Regions from separate parts of the Homo sapiens genome. Here all the other regions are linked to region 3. The links are contacts of gene promoters, found by promoter capture Hi-C in blood cells and fetal thymus (Javierre and others, 2016). All regions are on one chromosome and are shown on one strand. Each heading gives the region's core, a stretch centred on a gene start or on the middle of the fragment in contact. The rest is flanking DNA. Distances are from core to core; before and after follow the strand shown. Region 1 holds the start of NUCKS1 (nuclear casein kinase and cyclin dependent kinase substrate 1). Region 2 holds the start of RAB29 (RAB29, member RAS oncogene family). Region 3 holds the start of RBBP5 (RB binding protein 5, histone lysine methyltransferase complex subunit). Region 4 has its middle 4.5 kb from the start of ELK4.

Region 1 (5,045 bases), core at 964-3,463, 630 kb before region 3:
ATGCCATTATGCTAAGTGAAATAAGCCAGTCACAAAAGGACAAATACTGTATGATTACACTAACATGAGATTCCTAGAGCAGTCAGGTTCATACAGACAGAAAGTAAAATGGTGGTTGCCAGCGGCTATGGGGAAGGGGGAAAGTGGGGAGTTAGTGTTTAATGGGCACAGAGTTTCAGTTTGGGAAAATGAGAAAGTTCTGGTGTTGAATCGTGGTGATGGTTGCATAACAATGTGAATGTACTTAACGCCACTTAACTGTACACTTAGAGACAGTTAAAGTGGTACATTTATGTTATGTATTTTTTTTTTAACCACAATTTAAAAAAATTGCGGGGGACGGGTGCGGTGGCTCACTCCTGTAATGCCAGCACTTTGGGAGGCCAAGGCAGGCAGATCACTTGAGGTCAAGAGTTCAAGACCAGCCTGGCCAACATGGTGAAACCCCATCTCCACAATAAAATACCAAAATTAGCTGGGCATGGTGGAGCACGCCTGTAATCCCAGCTACTTGGGAGGCTGAGGCAGGAGAATCGCTTGAACCCGGGTGGTGGAAGTTTCAGTGTGCAGAGATCGTGCCACTGCAATCCAGCCTGGGGAGCATAGTGAGTGAGACTCCGTCTCGAAAAAATAAAAATTAAAAATAAAAATAAGAGGGACAGAGGGTGGAATGACATGGAAGAGACAAAAGATATTAATTTGTTTAATGCTTCACTGGTGGACTGTGCTATTCTCTTCTTTTTGGGAAGCCAGATTTTACAAAGGGAGACTTTCAGGAGGCAGATGTGGTGTGTTTTTTGTTGTTGTTGTTTGGAAAGTGTATCTTCAATTGGTTGTTAACTGACTGCTCATTGGAGACTTCTGCCAGATGCGCCCAGATCATTAGTCCGTTTGAATCATCACGTCTTCCAGGCCCCACCCTACTCTCTGATAGGCCCCACCTTCACCGTGGGGTCCTGTTAGTCAAGATGCTCTGAGAGCGCACAGCCACCAAACAAAAATGATCGCTTTGACTGTGACAGGGATTGACGTCTATTTTCGATAGCAGACTCAGCCTTAGCCATTCACATAGGAATCCTGAGCTCTGCCTTTGAGAGTATTAGGCATCCAACAAATGCTCACGGATTTAAGTGAAATGATGTGCGTTACTTTCAGTTATATGACTTCGAAGAGTCTTTGTTTTGTTTTTCAAAGTGCAAGGGTAAATCAATAGAATTCATAGGGTCTTGAGCCAGCTCCACCCATCTCTACCCAGGGACGGAATCATCTTTTAAAACTTGGATTTAACACTTACGTAGCACTTACTGTGAGCCAGAGACTATCCTAAAGACTTTTGATAGATATATCAACTCATTTAATACTAATAAGCCTATGCAGTTAGGTACCCTTGTTTCCCATTTTACAGATGAGAAAACTGAGGCACAGAGAAGGAAAGTTATACCACCATTAAGTAGTGGACCTGGGATTCCACCTGAAATACCTTGTGGCCCCTGAGCTCATGCTCTTAGTTATTGTACACCTGACTCTTTTCTTAAAATAGTAATGCACCAGACTGGGACTTTAATGACCCTGAAGTGGATCTCAAGGTCCAGAATGGAGAATGGTAATTGGGGGTGAAGATATTCCTTGATTATGATCCTGCCTCTCTACTCCAGCAGCCTCATTTGGTCCCTGAGGGTTAATGCCGAAGCCAGGGTAAGGGGCTTGTAGGTTTAAGGTCAAATTTTTTGAACCTAAGGAATTTCCCTCCAATTCTGTAGCAGCCCCGCAGTGACGAATCTGCTGCCTCTCCCACGGGTTTTGCTATTAGAGGATTTTCAAGGTGATCAAGGCAGACGAGATGAAACACCATTAAACTAACACTGAGCAACGCTGAACCCTACATAAATCTTTTTTTCTAGTCTTTCTAAGATACGACCCCAGACGAATCTGCAACTCTGGAGTGGAAACCAGGGGGCGGGCTAAGCAGCGACCATTTTTGTTTTGCGGCCGTGCGCTCTCAGAGCATCTTGACTAACAGGACCCCCACGGTGAAGGTGGAGCCTATCAGAGAGCAGGGCGGGGCCTGGAAGACGTGATGATTCAAACGGACTAATGATCTGGGCGCATCTGGCAGAAGTCTCCAATGAGCAGGCGTGTTGGGGAGGAGCGCACAAACCCTAGTGGGTTTGGTTGCACGGCGGCTTTGGCGCATTTTCGGCTGGTTTGATTCATCCATTTTGAAGAGACGGGGGAGCGGGGGGCTCGTCTGTTCCAGGAGCCCTGAACCAAAGAGCAGCGGAGTTTGAGAAGCCAGCAGCTCGGGGTTCGGCAGCAGCGGTCCCATCGGCTGAAGTTCGGGGGGGGTGGGGCGCCGAGCGCGCGGGGTGGGGGGGGTCCTGGTCTTTGGCTTCTCGACTCGGTCCTGTTTCGACAGCGAACATGTCGCGGCCTGTCAGGTCAGTGCGGAGTCTGAGGCCTGGAGCGGGTTGGAGGGGGATGGGGGCGAGTGGTGAAAAGAGTGGGGGACAGAAGGCTAGAGTCCGCCATCCCCGGTGCCGCGCGCGGCCTCCTCCCTTTCGGGGCCCGCGCGCACCCTTGAGCGTGGGGGGCCCTGCTGGCGCGCGGGGGTGGTGGCTGCGCGCCCGTGCGCGCGCCCCTCCCCGCCCCGCGCCGCTGCAGGGCTCCGGTCTGCTCAGCTGCCTCCCCCACCCACCGCACTAGAGCGGGCGGGGTGTCCCTGAGCCGCCAGCGGCCGGAGGGGGAGGGGTGTGAAGTCAGCGCCCCCAAGAGGCCCCACCTCCTCGGGGCCGTCCCCTTGGAGCCAGCGCGGGGAGGCGGGCGGACTCGAGCTCCACTCCCCACCTTCAGCGAGGAGGGGCGGAGGCACCCGTATTGCCCCTTCCCCCAGCGACTGGCGCGGGGGTGGGGGCCCTGAGCCCTCTCTGTAGCGGACGGGGGTGTTCCTGGCAAAGGGGGAGGGGCAGCACTGCCAACCGGCCCCGCCTCTGTCCTTCGGGGTCGCTGCAGGCCCCGCCTCCCGGATCGGGCCGAGCGTGGGCGGGACCCGTTTTTTTCCCCCCGGGCAAAAGTGAGAGTTCGGGACTGGATCCTGGAAAATAATGGGCTGCTGCCTCTCTCCCCACCTCAGAGTTTTGAGAGAGTTAACCCCAAAGTTCGCTCTTTCTCTCCGACTAGAAATGTCCTTCCTCGGGGAAATGTCCGTACTCAGGGAGGTGCGGGTTAACAGCACGGCCCAAATCCCGTGTGGTTCTCGTTCCACTCTCACCCGCGTACGCGTCTCGGGATATTTTTGTAACCCTCTTGTCCCCGAGTGACTTTAGTAATAAAAGGGCTAGGTTCGGGTAACCATCAGACTTCATTCTCGGAATTTCAACAAGTTTGCTATTCCCCCAGCTGTCGGTGGAATCGTCCTATGCCATTCTCCAGGCTATTGTATGGAATGTGCCATTTATGGAGGGGTGTGGTTTAGTCCAATCTGTTGAGGCCTTAAAAAGGAGAGCTGTTGCAAATAAATATTTTTAATGTAAGGAATTGGCTTCTTTGCATAGTGTGTTTTCTAAATAAATAGATAAAGGCTTAGTTTTTAAATGTTTTAACAGTCGTTGCTTCCCCTTCATTCCAAGTTGTGTGGGAAACGGAAGTACCTTTAATTAGAGTTCTAAAGAGAGGTTTGGGACCCTGGCAAGGGTTTTGTTCTACACCGTTCTGTCTCCAGACTAGATCATCCTCCAACTGGTGGTGGTATGAGACTGCGTACTCCTACACACGGGGTGGGAATGAGGAGAAAGCTGCTGTTAGCTCTGTTTCAATCAGCATCTGTGGTAACTCACGATCTCTACTCTGAAAGTTATGCTGGCCTTTTGGCAAGGAGTCTGGATAGCTCTTTCAGAGTATAGTTTGCGTAATTTTTTTGGCATAAAACTTGACCAATGTATCCATCAACTCACGTAGAATATTTTCTTTAGGATCAGGTAAAATAATAAAATAAAGATTTATTTTACCTGGATTGGATCTTTTGTCTTCTGGAAGTAATTACTGTGTGGTCAAATTAGGTCAAATTAGGAAAAATAATTCCTCTACCTTTTAAATTTTAGTTCACTAAGTTTTGATGACTTTATTTTATTGTGGTGACGTTCTTATCTCATCTGCCTGAATTTGTTTTCCCAGATTTAGGTATTGGAACATGAACAGAACATTTTTACTGGAAAACTTGGATTTTTTATGTTACCATGTGGGGATATATATATTAAGCACATTCTATCAGTTTTTTGGAGGCATTGGGACTTCTGCACAACTTTTTTATTACTCAGTATGTTGTTTAAACTAATTTTGACCTTGTTTATTTCCCCTAATTGAAGAGTGAAGTTAATATGTTGTGGGCTGTTTTTTTTTTTCTTTGCCATTTTCAAATTATTAATTTCAGAGCAAGTTGGTTACGGAGTATATTTTAGTCATAAATTCTTTGTAATTATTTTTTAAAAGAAGTCTTTATTCATGACCAATAATAAAGCAGAAATAATTAAACTTGAGTTTGGTGGTTTGTTAAATTTTGCAATAAAAAAGTCCTGACTTAGGGAAATGATGTTGTTTCAAAGTATAATTGAAGAATCTATATTCCCTTAGTGCATTTAACATCAACGAAAAAAGTGATAGACATTGACCTGATTTCAGAATCATCAGCCTTGTTTTAAAAACAAAAAAGCACAAGTTGGAAAATATTGTCACTGTGTCGTCTTTTGGGGTATTTCTGCCCTTAGGCCTGTGTATAATTTTGCAGTTTTTCTGGTTCTCATTGTACCATAAATATCCATTTTTATTTTAATATGAACCTAAACATTTTAAGAGCATTTGGAAATGTACCTATGGCACCTTAGCATCAATTTCCAAATGAAGGGTGGTATGGTGGACCTATTGGCTACTGCATGGTTTTGCAAAGACCTGTGTCTAGCACGTTATGTTTAACTTTGTTCATACAAGATTGCTGTCTTTACCCTTTGCAGTGGCCGACTGTTAAATGAGAGCTCAAATATTTTAGGCCTTGG
Region 2 (5,125 bases), core at 2,441-4,940, 650 kb before region 3:
AAAATGACATTGGGCTTTAAAAGAGCATAAGGAACCTCACCTTGTTGGAAGAAGGAAACTCCCATTTGAAGTCGGGTGAGATAAAATTGGTTAGGTAGGCCGGGGCAGGTGCATAGAAAGCTTTGGACACCAGCTTCAGGGAGGTTGGCCTTTTTTTTTGAAAGACAGTTGGTAGACAAGGAAGAACAAACAATGGTGTTTTAGGAAAACCATCCTGTCCAGTTGTAGACGGTGAGTTAAAAAGAAAATAAATTCAGGGAGACCAATAAACAGGTTACTGCAGGAATCCAGGTGTGAGATGGTGAAAGCCTGAACTAGGAAAGTGTTACTTGCTGATTACCTGGGTGACAAAATTATCTGTAAGCCAAACTCGCGCAACATGCAGTTTACTCGTGTAACAAACCTGCACATGTACCCCTTGAACCTAAAATAAAAGTTGGAGAAAAAAAAAAAAGGAAAGTATTACTGAATATGAAGCAGAGAGGATGAGTGGGAGAAACCATTTACTGAAGAAACAATCAATCAGACATGGTAACTGAATTTTTTTTAAAAGGGTATAGACCAGGTGCGGCGGCTCACGCCTGTAATCCCAGCACTTTGGGAGGCTGAGGCGGGTAGATCACTTGAGGTCAGGAGTTCAAGACCAGCCTGGCCAACATGGTAAAACCCTGTCTCTACAAAAAAAATACAAAAATTAGCCAGGCTTGGTGGTATGCGCCTGTAGTCCCAGCTACGCAGGAGGCTGAGGCACAAGAGTTACTTGAGCCCAGGAAGCAGAGGATGCACTGAGCCAAGATCATGCCAATGCACTCCAGCCTGGACAACAGAGTGAGACTCCATCTCAATAAACAAACAAACAAATAAATAGGTATAAAGGGACATGTGTAAAGGAAATAATAATGCTCAGAATCTGAAGTCTACATGGAGGCAAGAAATGATGAGACCAGTGACAGAAATAGGGAAGCTGAGAAAAGGAGCTATTTTTATGGCAATGTAGTAAGAGGAAGGATGTGGCAGGACATCCAAGTGGGGGCACCTTTTGGGCAGCTGAATATCACTGATCAGAGATAAAGAACAAATAAAGTGTTAATGGTAGCTATGATAGCGGTTATCACCAGTGCCGTGAGTATTCCTTCATTAAGGGCTGACACAGAGAACAATTATACTTATTGGGTATATTTATCAATCTTGGCTGGCAATAATGCCTGGATGCAATCACTTTATGACGCAGTTACACATGCTTTCTGATCTCAGTATTTACCATAATAAATCTGCTCCTATAATTGAGGCATACCGCCCTCAAAAACTTATTTGTAAACAGGATTGGACCCAGTTAGAAAAAATGAACGTACTTGTTTAGGAAGATTGCATTGCAGAACAGGCAGAGATGCTGCACAATGATTCCTATGGAATCATTATTAATTGGTCCCCTAAGGGGATGTTTAGCTTGAATTGCACCTCTCAGTCTGCGTGCCACGGCCACACTATGTTCAGCTGGTCTGAACAAAATGGTCAGATGGTAGATATAATAAGAAGTACAGCAAGAGTTCCTATTATCTGGAACCATGGCAGTATAGTGACACCTCAACCTCAAATGATATGGCCCGCTCTAGGAGCTTAACATAAGGATTTAAAATTAAAAGAAGAAATATTTAAAGCATCCGAGGCACACTTGACCTTAATGCCAGGAACTGGAGTGCTTAAAGGAGCCGAAAATGGATAAAAACACTTGGAAGCTCTGTGATTTCAATGATGATTGTGCTTTTAATCTGTGTTGTTTGTCTTTGTATAGTCTGCAGATGTGTATCCTGACTCCTGCGAGAAGTAGCTCACCGTGACAAAGCTGCCTTTGCATTTATCAATTTGCAAATCAGAGAAGAGGGACATGTTGAGAGCAGGCCCCCCAAAATCTGGCCATAAACTGGCCCCAAAACTGGCCATAAACAAAATCTCTGCAGCACTGTAACATGTTCATAATGGCCCTAACGTCCACGCTGGAAGGTTGTAAGTTTACAGGAACGAGGGCAAGGAACACCTGGCCCGCCCAGGGTGGAAAACCGCTTAAAGGCATTCTTAAGCCACAAACAATAGCATGAGTGATCTGTGCCTTAAGGACATGCTCCTGCTGCAGTTAACTAGCCCAACCTATTCCTTTAATTCGGCCCATCCCTTCGTTTCCCATAAGGGATACTTTTAGTTAATTTAATATCTATAGAAACAATGCTAATGACTGGTTTGCTGTTAATAAATACGTGGGTAAATCTCTGTTCGGGGCTCTCAGCTCTAAAAGCTCTAAAGGAAATCAGACCCCTGATTTCCCACTTCACACCTCTATATTTCTGTGTGTGTGTCTTTAATTCCTCTAGCGCCACTGGGTTAGGGTCTCCCCAACAGAGCTGGTCTTGACAGAATATCACTGATCAGAGATAAAGAACAAATAAAGTGAAGATAGATCTTTGACACCAAGGACAATTCACTAAAGAGTTTATCGAATGATTGACTCAGAGACCAAGAATCAGGCCTTAGGAAATACTTAGCGGGAAATGGGATGGAGAGAAACCTGAAAGAAAAAGATAATCATCAGAGAAGTACGGGGATGACAAAGAAAGAACAGCGTCATAGAAGGCATAAGGGAAACAAATGTCAAGGAGTGGTCAACTATGTCAAAACGAATAAGAACAGAGAAAACTGGATCCTTAAAGATGAGTAGCTTGAACTAACCTCCTGTACCTGGGTAACGAACATTCTGGGCAAAATATATTGTGAACCATGCTGATGTTCTTTCGCCACAAAACATAAGTGATAGCCTCTCTATCAAGAGACCTAGATTTCCTAGTGTCTGGTCCTGGGCTGTTTTCCCATGGCCCCGCTGGTTCTCTTCCTCTATTCCTAGAAAAGTATAGAAAATGGAGCTCTCTTTGCTTGCCATTGAGCTCATGTCCTGCCAACTTCTACCCAAGTGACAGGTAGGTCAGTAAAGTTACAGGCTGAGAAATTAAAATTATTTGCCAAACACTAGTTTTATGATTATCTATTAACAACAGCCACAACAAATCAAGAAGGAGTCCCAGTGTATTTCAATTAGCTTCTAGCTCAAGTGATACATGAGTAGTATGGCTAGAATAGGCATTGTAGAAGTATGAATGGAGAACTGTCTCTTGTTTTCTGTCCATCTTTATTGTTATTGCTGGATATTAAATGCTGTAATTTTTGGCATAGGTTTTTTTCCAAAGACTGGTCTCTTGGGTCAAGTTTTCCTGAACTTGCCTGGTATTGGGCAAGTTCACACAGAAAATATGAGTCATTTCACAAAGTCCTGGGCTTGTCTATCTACTTGAAGGAATAGGAAATGGACTTCACTTGGAGCATGATGGATGAGGCTTGGGCTTTTACTAATGAAATAAGTTTCAATCTTAACTCAGTTAAACCTTTAAAGACAGGAGAAAACTATCTGGGGATGGATTCAGGCCAGTGAGATCACGTTGCACAAATCTCCCCTTAAGGGATCTTTACTGACCTAGAATTGTTTCAAAATAAGATTCCAAACTGTCGAGGGAGTTTGAAGCCTTGAAACTTGGTGTAGGTTTGCTTAAAACAAAATAACGAATATACTACATTTCCCAGGAGGCTTCGCGGTGAGCCTCCGCACTCGGCTGGTTCTCTTTACCGCGAGGAAAGCTGGGAAATGTAGTGCCACAGGCAACCCTGCACGTGACGCTTGCGGAGGAAGGGGAGAGAGAGGCGCGCGGGAGGGCGTCTAGGGAATCGAGGTGCCGGCTGCTCCTTCCTCACAATTTGGTTTGTGCTGCAAGGGGAGGGTCCCCATCATCTGGCCCCAGTGGTGTAAGGAGCTGACTGGGATTCAGTCACTGACTTGGAGCCGCTCGGGGGAAGTCCCGGTGGGTGAGGTTCCGCGGCGCCTGGTCCAGTTTCTCGGCAGTCAGGCCAGGAGGGGGTGGGGAAGGTGCGAACAGCCGGGGGCTCGGAGCTCGCGCCCTGCGCCCCACCCAGGTTGCGGCCGCCCGGGGAGGAAGCGCGTATAGGTTGAGTGCAAAGTTTCCTTTTTTGCTTTCTCGTCAGAGCAGCCCAGACAGGCGGTGGGTGGGAATGCCTCACTTCAGTTTGAAGAGGGTCCGGATCCAAAGGGGTTAAAACGAGCGACCCCCGATCCCCGACCACACTTCCCGCCTCCCTAAAACGCACACCCCGCTAGCCATGGGCAGCCGCGACCACCTGTTCAAAGTGCTGGTGGTGGGGGACGCCGCAGTGGGCAAGACGTCGCTGGTGCAGCGATATTCCCAGGACAGCTTCAGCAAACACTACAAGTCCACGGTGGGAGGTGAGACGTCTCGGGGGTGGGGAGGGGGAGGGGGAGGAGGAGGCCCCGACCGCGGACTCGAGCTGGGGACCCAAGTGGGGTGGGGATTTGCTGTCGGTTGTTGGGTCCTTCTTCGGGTCAGGAAGTACTGTCTGGGAACCTAGATGGTGTAATTGCCGGGTGTTTGGTTTACACGCCTCTCTTGAGTTTCCCGTTAGATTTTCCCAAACTGAGCCCACTGCCAGGAGAAAGGTAAGAGCAAAGGCGTGAAGATGAGAAATAGGGAAGGGAGGATGAGGATGAGCAATTGCTGTTTATTGCAGGCGTACTGTGAACTTAAGTCTCCAGCCTTTCAGCTGTCCGGCAAATCTCTCCAATCAGCAGAAGCAGCTGAGATCCTCTGTGGGGCCTCCTGGTTAGGTGCCGGCTGGGGCTGTAGTCCTGCCCCTCTGTTGAGGGAGGAACCGCAAGGTGTTTAACCTGGCTTCAGTGGGAGAACGCAGGAAGCGGAACTGGTCTGAAGGACTGTAGCTTTGTTGTGGGGCTGTGGGTGGGATGGAAGACACAAAATCCCCGAACGAGCCCCTTGGCTACGCAGTCAGATGCCCATGAGGGCTGATGAGCTGTGTTTTTGTCCGTTGATTGCTTAAATAAAGGTAACCAAGGAATTCTTCCAAGAATGTGAAATATACCACTTCTCTGACCTATCTTCCCACCACTTTTTTCCTCAAACTGGAGAAGGTAGGGAGGAAGGGGACACCGAGTTCATTCATTTCTTTCCCGGGTGTGGCCTTTGGACTCAACTAT
Region 3 (5,424 bases), core at 2,584-5,083:
AAGTGCTACATTCCTGCAGGAATAAAGTGCTTAGCAAGCTCATATAATAGCAAGGCAGTGCCAATGTGACTGGAAAAGAATGAGTTTCAGGCCGGGTGCGGTGGCTCACGCCTGTAATCCCAGCACTTTGGGAGGCCGAGGAGGGCGGATCACGAGGTCAGGAGATCGAGACCATCCTGGCTAACAAGGTGAAACCCCGTCTCTACTAAAAATACAAAAAATTAGCCAGACGCGATGGCGGGCACCTGTAGTCCCAGCTACTCGCGAGGCTGAGACAGAAGAATGGCGTGAACCCGCGAGGCAGAGCTTGCAGTGAGCCAAGATTGCGCCACTGCACTCCAGCCTGGGTGACAGAGCGAGACTCCGTCTCAAAAAAAAAAAAAAAAAAAAAAGAATGAGTTTCAGTAGAAGAGAGGTAGGTAGCAGGGGGGCCAATTAGCTGCTTATTGCTGATTTCATTATATGAATATATCAGGATATAGCCATTCTACAGTTTTTGATGTTTGGGCTATTTGTGATTTTTTTTTGCTATTATGAACAATGGTACTATGTCCATTGTACATGTTTCCTGGTGCACTTGTGCAAGAGTTTTTCTACAATATATACCTACAGGTAGAATTTCCTGGTCATAGTGTATAAAAATGTAAACAAGGTCATTTTTACTACATAACAAGAAATTGTTTTCCGACGTGGTTGTACTGATTCACATTCTCTTGAGAGAATTCTCTTACAAGAATTTTGGGTGCTCTTCTTTTAGTTTGTCAACTTTGTCGTTGTAAATATCTAATTGTGACTTAATTTGCATTTTACTGATTACTGATGAGATCTGGCGTTGTCAAATAGATCACTTCCCTTTTTTTGAAGTGCCATGGCTTGCTCTCTAATTTTTACAGGTTATTTAAACTTTCTTTTTTTTTTAAAAGAAAAAGGCCAGGCATGGTGACTCACCACCTGTAATGGCAGCACTTTGCGGGGCCGATGTGGGCAGACAGCTTGAGCCCAGGAGTTCGAGTCCAGCCTGGGCAACATGGTGAATCCCTGTCTACAAAAACTACAACAATTAGCTGGGCATGTTGGTGCCTGCCTATAGTCCCTGCTACTTGGGGGGACTGAGGTGGGAAAATCACTTGAGCCTGGAGGTTGAGCTGCAGTGAGCTGTGATCATGCCACTGCACTCCAGCCTGGACGACAGAGTGAGACTCTGTCTCAAAAAAAAAAAAAAAAAAGAAAAGAAAGAAAGAAAAGAAAAAAAAAGAAAGTCCAAATAGGATTGGAGGGGTAGAAAGGGAAAAAGAGGTGTGAGGAAAAAGGTGTACTGAAAATCCCTCAGTGGGCCGGGTGCTGAGTTGAGATTGCGCCACTGCACTCCAGCCCAGGCGACAAGAGCAAGACTCCCTCTCAAAAAAAAAAAAAAGAAAAGAAAAGAAAATTCCTCAGGGGTTTTCTAACACTATTTTTATTTTCATTTTATTTATTTATTTATTTTGAGATGAAGTCTTGCTGTTGCCCAGGCTGGAGTGCAATGGCATGATCTTGGCTCACTGCAAACTCCACCTCCTGGGTTCAAGCGATTCTCCTGCCTCAGCCTCCCTAGTAGCTGGGATTACAGACATGCGCCACCACACCTGGCTATTTTTTGTATTTTTGGTATAGACGGGGTGTCACCATGTTGGCCAGGCTGGTCTCGAACTCCTGACCTCGTGATACGCCTGGCCTCTGCCTCCCAAAGTGCTGGGATTACAGGTGTGAGCCACTGCACCTGGCCTCACTATTTTTATTTTTAACAGCTTTAATTTTAACTTCATTAGCTATATTAGCATCCAATCTGTAAAAATTATTACATTGGAATCAGGCGTGGTAGCTCACAGCTGTAATCTGTAATCCCTGCATTTGGGAGGCTGAGGCAGGAGGATTACTTGTGCCCAGGAATTTAAGGTTACAGTAGTGAGCTATGGTTTCGTCATTGCATTCCAGCCTGGGCAACAGAGTGAGACCATATCTCTAAATACATATATATATGATTACTTTGGATTTGAGAGTAGAGTCAGAGAATTTAGAGGAAACTAGGCTGTGGTTTTCACACGATATTTTTCCTTGTTGCTTTTGCCTTTATGCAAAGTTTTCCTTTGTCTTTGGAGAGTAGAAAAACTGTGGATTTTTTTTTTTTTGAGACAGAGTCTCACTCTGTTGTCCAGGCTGGAGTGCAATGGTGCGATCTTGGCTCACTGAAACCTCTGCCTCCCGGGTTCAAGCGATTCTCCTGCCTCAGCCTCCCGAGTAGCTGGGATAACAGGCATGAGCCACCACGCCCAACTAATTTTGTATTTTTAGTAGAGACAGTGTTTCTCCATATTGATCAGGCTGGTCTCGAACTCCCGACCTCAGGTGATCAGCCCGCCTCGGCCTCCCAAAGTGCTGGGATTACAGGCGTGAGCCACCGCACCCGGCTGCAAAAGACATACTTTATAAAGGTCCAAGGATAATGGAAATAGAAGACATTAATGTAATATGTTCTTGGGAACTAATTGGATACACCAAGTATTATCTTTGACTAGTTTCTGGACTTCTGCTTCATTCTGCAACCTGCAGCCAACTACCATGGTGTCCATCTATTATTAGGCGCTTTAAATAGCTCCTTAATTCACATTTACTCTCTTCAATCGATGTGTCAGACTGTGGGGGCCACTTAATTCCCATTCCAAATTCTTGGGAAAGGAATTTAATTGGGTTGAGCTTAGGTCAGGGGCTTACTGAAAGAGCAATCAACTGGGGCCCAGGGACAGGGTGCACTGTGTGAATGAGGCTGCTTTTTCTGCAAATTTGTCAAGTAGAGGCAGACTGGACTAGCTACATAATTTGCAGGGCCCTGGGCAACATGAAAATGCTGGGCTCCCTAGTTCAAAAGTTTCATTATTGTTTCCAAAAGTTTGCAATTGCAGACAATACTGCGATTAATAAACTTGTGTATGTGTATTTTTCCATTGTCGGAGACCTAGCCCGAGTACTATTTTCTGCAGCGAGCCTTTGACGTTGTTTCCTTTTTCTGATGAGCCACAGCATTTATAGTAGGAATTTGTTCATATAAAATTTGCTCTTTCGCTAGATACCAGTAACTGGACTTCTCTAATTGCTTTGGGTATTTCATTGGAGTTCTGTATGACTGAGCTCCGGGAAACTCAGTCCACCCCTCATTCCAATTCTTTTTCACAGTCTTTTTCACAGCGTCCCTGTCAACACTGTTTGGTAAAGGGTAAAACCTTAGATAATAAGGTTTTTATTATCTTAACACAGACAGGCCTAACATATGTTGTCGTACCTTTCTGTAGGATCAATAGCATATCTTTACAAATGAGAAATAATTTTCACGAGACCGAAACACCCTGCAACGCCACCTACATACAGGGTAAGTACGCGCCTTGGTGAGGTCAGCGGCGCTACACACCCGAGCACTAGGGGACGACCTTCCCTGGTTTCTTGCATTAGCAGGACTTGTCCGGAACCTTTCCTGCGGAGTCTGAGGTAGCCCGCCCGGACAACGCCGCTGAACACACAACAGGGCAAGAACTAGTAGGTTAACTGTATGCCTGGAATTTCTACCTCACCTACATGTTCCCGGAGCAAATAATCTTAAATTGTCGCGCTATTTAAAGTCCCTAGTGACGATAACATTGTTGTACCTCAGCAAAGATCATAATTAATTGTTTCCGAGAGAGTGTATGCTTGATTTTGGTCAGGCATATATTTGGGCAGCCCACCTGAAACGAACAAGGAAGGCGGGGGAAGAAAGCGGAAGCCGCGGGGCCTTCTAAGGCCGAAAGTCTTCGGAGCTTGCGCCAGTCTCTTCGCGGCGTCCACCACTTAGACGCAAGTTGCTGAAGCCGGCCGGGGAGAAGGTGTTGTTGCCGGAGCTGAGACCGGGCGGCCACAGTCCGCAGGGATGAACCTCGAGTTGCTGGGTGAGAAGGGCTGTGGCTGCGTTTTAGAGAAGCGTTGGGTACTGGAAAGGAGGGAACCCAGGCGGGAGGGGAGTCAGGCTGCAATCTTAGGGACACTGTTCGGCTATGGATCACTGGGCACACCTGATGTGGAGCAGCAGCGGGAGGAGGAAGCCCACCTTCTGCCCGAGTAGGTTGCATTGCCCCTCCCGAGGCCACTTTCATATCAATTATGGAGCGATGGGGACAGACAGTTTGTGACTTAGCTTTGATTATGAGGATCGCAGGTGTTGAAGTACCCAGAGCAGCCAGGACCAGAGTTGTTGGAGATGGAATTTGAAGAAGTGAGGCTTGGGATGAAGCTTTGAAGACTTGTCAGGGAATTGGGTGCCTGAACAGGTTAATCTTTTTGTAGAAAAGAGAAGTCTAAGGAGGGGACTTGGAGATCTTCTGGTAGAAGCTTCTCATTGAACAGATGAATAAAGGCTCAGAGGGTAATGGCTAGGCACTAAGCAAGTAAATGGCATAGTTGGCACTGGAATCCAATTATCCTAACTTTCTGTTTAAGGTCCTTTGCTAGGGACGGTGTGTAAAACACTGAGGTGTGAAATACGGAGGGAGTTGTCTTTTGTCGCCCTCACTTTGAGTCATTGCCTCCTTACCTCCTATCCAGATTATTTAAAAACTGTAGGTCCTTTCTCCTGGACTTCCATTAGGTGACATTTAGCATGGTATTCTAGGGGTAGCTGAGGTTTTCAAGGACTTCTGCACTACTTGCTGTTCCTAATGGTTAGGTTTCTCTTTTAAAAAAGTCAGAAGATATGTTAATTGTCAAAAGGGCTACAAAGATACATAAAAAATGGTCTTTGCCCTTAAAGAGCTTTTCATTAAGCAGGGAGTTTAAGGTGATTATGTAAAATAGCTGTAGGATATTGCAGAATGTAGGCAGGCCTGAAAGAGTCATTACCAGTTGCTAAGAATGTTTGGAACAGAGAGTGAATGTCTTTGGGGTAAAGGAAGAAGTCAACCAGGAAAAACAAACCCCCCAAACCTGTGGAGGAGTTGGAGTTTTAAGTGGACTTTTTTTTTTTTTTTTAAGACAGCCTCGCGCCGTCGCCTAGGCTGGAGTGCAGTGGCACAGTCTTGGCTCACTGCAACCTCTGTCTCCTGGGTTCGAGTGATTCTCGTGCCTCAGCCTCCTGAGTAGCTGGTACTACAGGTGCGCACTGCCATGCCTGGCTAATTTTTGTATGTTTAGCAGAGATGGGGTTTCACTGTGTTGGCCAGGCTGGTCTCAAACTCCTGGCCCCAAGCAATCCACTCACCTCAGCCTCCCAAAGTGTCCGGCCTTAAGTGGATTTTTAAGGTTGGTAAAATATCAACAGGCTGAAGTATGAAAATATGGGAGGGATGTTCAGTAGGCATCAGTGAGAGAAGACCTAAAGAATTTTCCTGCTTGGCCAGGTTGTGGATAAAGAGAATGCCAGGG
Region 4 (5,062 bases), core at 517-3,016, 520 kb before region 3:
AAGGTTAGGGCTCATTAGCATCTGGGTGATGAACGAAGGCTTGGAGAGAATGGGGTCCCTTATGGGGAGTGTGTTGAAGGACAACAGGCCGAAGATAGAAACCTGAAGCAAGGACAGAACTTTCTTTCAGAGCTGGTAGAAGAGAAGTCCCAAAAGAGAGACAAAAACTGGTTAGGGAGATAGAAGAATCACAGAGGCCAAGAGAAGAGAGTGTTTCCGAGAGGGTGCCAGGAAGGGACAGCTAAGTCTGCTCTGGAGGTCAGGGATGTGTACCTAAGGAGGCAACATCTAAACTGGTCTTGAGGAACAGCCGAAGATGGCGAACGGGACAGTTCCTGAAAAGGGAATGTGAGATTTGGCAATCAGGATAGCTGTAGCCTTTACTACGGAAAAGTCAGTGGTGGAGACAGCAGACAGATTCAGCGGGCTGAAGAGTAAGCAGAAGGTGAGGATGGGTAGGCAGGAGATAGAAACCATTATTTTTTGAAGTTTGATACTAAAGAGAAGGAAAGGCTAATACTTGAAGGGGGAAGTTTTCTAAATGGGTGGGACTTGAGCATGTTTACTAGCAGAAGGAGAGGGAGGTGAGAGGCCGAACGTAAGAGAGGCAGTAGTGGGTGAAGCAAAGGCCGTGGAGAGGCAGACGAAACGGACTCCAGCGCAAGCCACGCTGCAAATCTCTATGCCAGGCAGTTTGTGCCTCTGAGCTCTGCCATGCCATTCCCTTTTCCTGGATGATCTCTTCAATAAACCTTTACTGAGCCACTCCTGGGGCAGGGATTATTCTGCAACTGTGCTGCAAAGGTAAACAACCTGGGCTCTCTTCTCCAGAACTCATTTCCAACACTTGAAGAGACAAGTAAGAAACTTCAAGTCAGTGTGGAGAGTGCTGCAAGGACCAGTACTGGACATGATGGGAGACACTGGAAAGTCCCAAACCTAGTTTAGGGTGTTAGGGGACTTCCTGGAATCGGGGACATCTAAGCTGAGCCCTAAAGTAGGAGACAGTCAGATGGGAGAGAGTAAAGAAGAAGACATTTCAGGCCAAATGCCTGAATACCATACCCTGGAGTGGTCAGGTTGGTTCTCTGGTGGGAACACGAAGATTCTCCTGATCTTCTCCTCCCTACTCTCAACACTCTCAACATTCGTAGTTTTTACCTCCACTAAATACTCTTTCCTATATTATAGTGATGTTACCCCTTTATCTACTGGAAACTTCTGAAGAGAAGAGACTGGTCTTATTTTTGAATCTCCTAAAGTATCCAGCACAGAGCTCAGCACACGGTTAATGCTTTAAAAATATTTTTTGATAAGAAATCTCAGGCCTAAGAATCCCTATCATGGCTAATAAATTCTCAGAGGGCCATTGGTAGGATTAAGATATAGAGATTAAAAAGGGAAAGAAAAAAGTATGCATAGGAAGAAAAAAGGGTCAGGGAACAAGAGAGAGACAGAGAGAGAGCTGGGAAAGAGGGTGGGGAAGAAGCAAAGAGACAGATAAAGTGTACACACAGTGGGGAGGGATCCACTTACAAACCAAATCTAGCCAGAATTCTTTGCTCCATGAAACCTTGTCTTTGGATATTTTCCATCATGGGGAGAACTCCTTATTCTCCCTCTGCTTTAGGGGTCTCCCACTGGAATCTGATTCATAGATAAATTTGGTAAGTTGCAGGCATCACAACTCCATCTTCTGAGAAGCAGGGAGAAGCTGAGAGAGGGAAAGAAGGGGAAAAAAAGCCTACAAAACCAGCAAGTTTCCCACTTTACAGAGTGAGCCTAGACAGAACTTGAATTTTCTTCCCTTGAGAGTTAGGAGGAAAGCTGGTAGCTGTGTCACACTCCTGAGTTGTGTACACGACTCACAAGCCAAATTTTCTAGCACAGCAGAACAATTTTGTTTTGCTGCTGGATATATAAAGCAAGGAAAAAAAAAAGATGGCATTCCATCTTTTTGAATTAGCACCAAGTCTTTCAAACTCCACCCTTTCCAGGAAATGTTCTTTAATGCAGTGGGAGGTGGTAATTTTACTCTCTCCAAACCCTCATTTTACTTCCCTCACAACACAAAACCCTGCTCAGAGCTGCACTTATATCTTCGTTTGTCAGCCTGACTGCCTCTCCCATCATTTCTGAATCCTTAGCTGAATTCTTTGTTCATGTCAACGGGATAGCAAAAGAATTCTGAAAATGCTGGAAGTCGTGGACAGCAATGATGGTCGCTGAGGGTGTCAGTGTTGCCAATTCAAGACTCAGAATTCCTAGAAGAGCAAATGCTCTTTGAGTTTCTTCTGTAATAACAGCATAGTATCATATATTGGTGCTTCCTTAATTAACTTTAATTGAAGAAGTTTTTTTTCCAGACAGTGATTATAAAATACACCAGAGAGGAAAAATTATTTTGGCTTAAAATTCAGAGCAATATGTATTCTGCAAGGAGCTGGTCCAAACACCAGAATCTTAAACAATTATACAAAAGGCAGATTTCATGAGCTTTTATCAATTAAGGAACACCTTTTCCAAAGGTGGCTCACGCCTGTAATCCCAACACTTTGGGAGGTCAAGGTGGGCAGATCACCTGAGGTCAGGAGTTTGAGACCAGCCTGGCCAACATGGCGAAACCCCGTCTCTACTAAATACACAAAGATTAGCAAGGCATGGTGGCACACGCCTGTAATCCCAGCTACTCAGGTGCCTGAGGCAGGAGAATCGCTTGAACCCGGCAGGCAGAGGTTGCAGTAAGTCGAGATCCCATCACTGCACTCCAGCCTGGGTGACAGAGTGAGATTTTGTCTCAAAAAAAAATTGATATATTCTCTCTTCTTTCTCTATTACATATTCCATATCAATTTTTATAAGTCTAGAAATAATACATTTATCAAAGACCAATAAAATTACTTGAGGTTAAAAATATTAAAAGAAAATAAGTAGACTGGGTGTAGAGATCAAGAATGAAAATTATATGAAGCTATTTTCTGACCTGTGTTTGTGACAGGTCATCAAACATATTAGACAGTTGCTATGCCTCAGGCGGTAATTGCAATAACTCATGTCTCGTCATGTCCTCTCTGAAAAAACAATGTATTGTGTGGAGATTACAGCTAGTCCTGAAAGATGTTGCCATGAGTTTACTTCACAGTCTAGAGGCCACAAGTACCTTGTTCAATGACCTTCAGATTGGGTTTTCTCCGGACCCTTAATACCCTCTGATTAAAAGCCTTATTATTGGGGATGAAACGTTTACTGGTTATATTTGGTAAAGTTTAGGACCTTAACAGGTAGTAGGGGTTGCCAGTGCTGCCAGATTCAATATACAGCTAGCCAGAGTTTTCTTTTCAAAGATAACTTTACCTCTATCTAAGATCTCAGTCCACACAAATATAACAGCAATAGGGCTATTTACCAAGAGTTCAAAGCATCATTTGATCAACCGCTTTTTTTTTTTTTTTTTTTTTGAGACGCAGTTTCGCTCCTGTCACCCAGGCTGGAGTGCAGTGGCACGGTATCAGCTCACTGAAACCCTCACCTCCCGGGTTCAAGCCATTCTCCTGCCTCAGCCTCCTGAGTAGCTGGGATTACAGGTGCCTGCCACCACACCTGGCTAATTTTTTTGGTATTTTAACAGAGATGGGGTTTCACCATGTTGGCCAGGCTGGTCTTGAACTCCTGACCTCAGGTGATCTACCTGCCTCAGCCCCCCAAAGTGCTGGGATTACAGGTGTGAGCCACCACAACCAGCCTACTGCCTTTTTCTTTTAGTCTATCCATTACAGACATGAAGTGAAAGGTATGTCTCTTTTATTTCTAAAGATGTTGAAAGTGAAACCCAGAAAGGGTAAGTCGCAAGGATTTTCTCAGGAGGTTCAAGTTTTGAGTTTAGGGAGACCCAAAGGCTAGAACCCAGATATCCCAGATTTTTATTCTTTCTTCTCAGTCATGTTGCAATTTGCTCCACACTTGTCCCCACCTGGGGTTGTGGGTGCTGTCTTTGACTTAAAAGATATCTCTTCTTAATGTCACGTGCTACAGGATATTGCTTGAAAGACGTAACAGGCAACTGGATGGCTCCATGCTTGCTTAGTCAGTCAAAAATCCGTGAAACACTTCTTTAGGAAAAAGGGATAGTGACTGGGAGTAATGATGAAGCAGTGAAATAAAGAGAGGGAAGAGGAAGTTGCCTTGAGAAGTAATGATCATAACTAGGTGTTATTGGGATAGGAAATGTAATTAAATTAGGGGCAAGGGGTTGCAGAGCTGAGTTAACTGCAGTGATTAAGAAAAAAAATCTAGGCCAGGCCCGGTGGCTCACATCTGTAATCCCAACACTTTGGGAGGCCAAGGCAGGCGGATCACGAGGTTAGGAGTTTGAGACCAGCCTGGCCAACACGGTGAAACCCCGTCTCTACTAAAAATACCAAAATTAGCTGGGCGTGGTGGTGCACACTTATAGTCCCAGCTACTCAGGAGGCTGAGGCAGAAGAATCGCTTGAACCCGGGAAGCGGAGGTTGCAGTGAGCCGAGATTGTGCCACTGTAACTCTAGCATGGGTGACTGTGTGAGATTCTGTCTCAAAAAAAAAAACAAAAAACAAAAAACAAAAAACAAAATCTAGGGCAGGCCAGGTAGAAAATACATATTTAAACATTTTAAGCCAGGCGTGATGGGTCACGCCTGTAATCCCAGCACTTTGGGAGGCCGAGGCGGGCGGATCACCTGAGGTCAGGAGTTCGAGACCAGCCTGACCAACACGGAGAAACTCCATTTCTACTAAAAATACAAAAAAATTTAGCCGGGCATGGTGGCGCATGCCTGTAATCCCACCTACTTGGGAGGCTGAGGAAGGAGGCTCGCTTGAACCCGGGAGGCGGAGGTTGCGGTGAGCCGAGATTGCGCCATTGCACTCCAGCCTGGGCAAGAAGAGCGAAACTCTGTCTCAAAAAAATAAATAAACATTGTAATAAAATCTACAAATTTTCTTTGGGATGGCTCTGAGTAACTAAGGCTAAGATCAGGAATCCATCTATCTGGTGGGAAAGTGACCAAACAAGATAACGAAAAA

The links. Contacts are between HindIII fragments. The CHiCAGO score rates a contact against its expected background, and 5 or more counts as called.
Region 1: the fragment with the promoter of NUCKS1 here is called in contact with the fragment with the promoter of RBBP5 in region 3 in 3 of 17 cell types (activated CD4 T cells, naive CD4 T cells and total CD8 T cells); the score reaches 6.1 in activated CD4 T cells.
Region 2: a contact is called between the fragment with the promoter of RAB29 here and the fragment with the promoter of RBBP5 in region 3, in 5 of 17 cell types (non-activated CD4 T cells, naive CD4 T cells, neutrophils and 2 more). The highest score is 7.9, in non-activated CD4 T cells.
Region 4: a contact is called between a fragment that was not itself captured here and the fragment with the promoter of RBBP5 in region 3, in 1 of 17 cell types (total B cells). The highest score is 5.1, in total B cells.

The regions. Positions count from the first base shown.
Region 1 is chr1:205,747,350-205,752,394 of GRCh38, reverse strand. It overlaps NUCKS1 (nuclear casein kinase and cyclin dependent kinase substrate 1), which reads left to right and starts at 2,213. Exons shown (of 7, transcript NM_022731.5): 1 at 2,213-2,438. The coding sequence starts at 2,422. RefSeq lists an enhancer at 1,770-2,019 and a silencer at 2,440-3,039. The HindIII fragment of the contact is 8,985 bases long and covers 1-5,045 here.
Region 2 is chr1:205,774,047-205,779,171 of GRCh38, reverse strand. It overlaps RAB29 (RAB29, member RAS oncogene family), which reads left to right and starts at 3,690. Exons shown (of 6, transcript NM_003929.3): 1 at 3,690-3,899; 2 at 4,086-4,339. The coding sequence starts at 4,216. RefSeq lists an enhancer at 4,776-4,825. The HindIII fragment of the contact is 8,570 bases long and covers 123-5,125 here.
Region 3 is chr1:205,120,387-205,125,810 of GRCh38, reverse strand. It overlaps RBBP5 (RB binding protein 5, histone lysine methyltransferase complex subunit), which reads left to right and starts at 3,833. Exons shown (of 14, transcript NM_005057.4): 1 at 3,833-3,956. The coding sequence starts at 3,938. RefSeq lists a silencer at 2,856-3,150 and enhancers at 3,512-3,731, 3,872-4,051, 5,215-5,424. The HindIII fragment of the contact is 6,684 bases long and covers 1-4,299 here.
Region 4 is chr1:205,633,935-205,638,996 of GRCh38, reverse strand. No RefSeq gene overlaps it. Among named protein-coding and RNA genes, the nearest start is that of ELK4, 4.5 kb to the right of the region's middle. The HindIII fragment of the contact is 9,419 bases long and covers 1-5,062 here.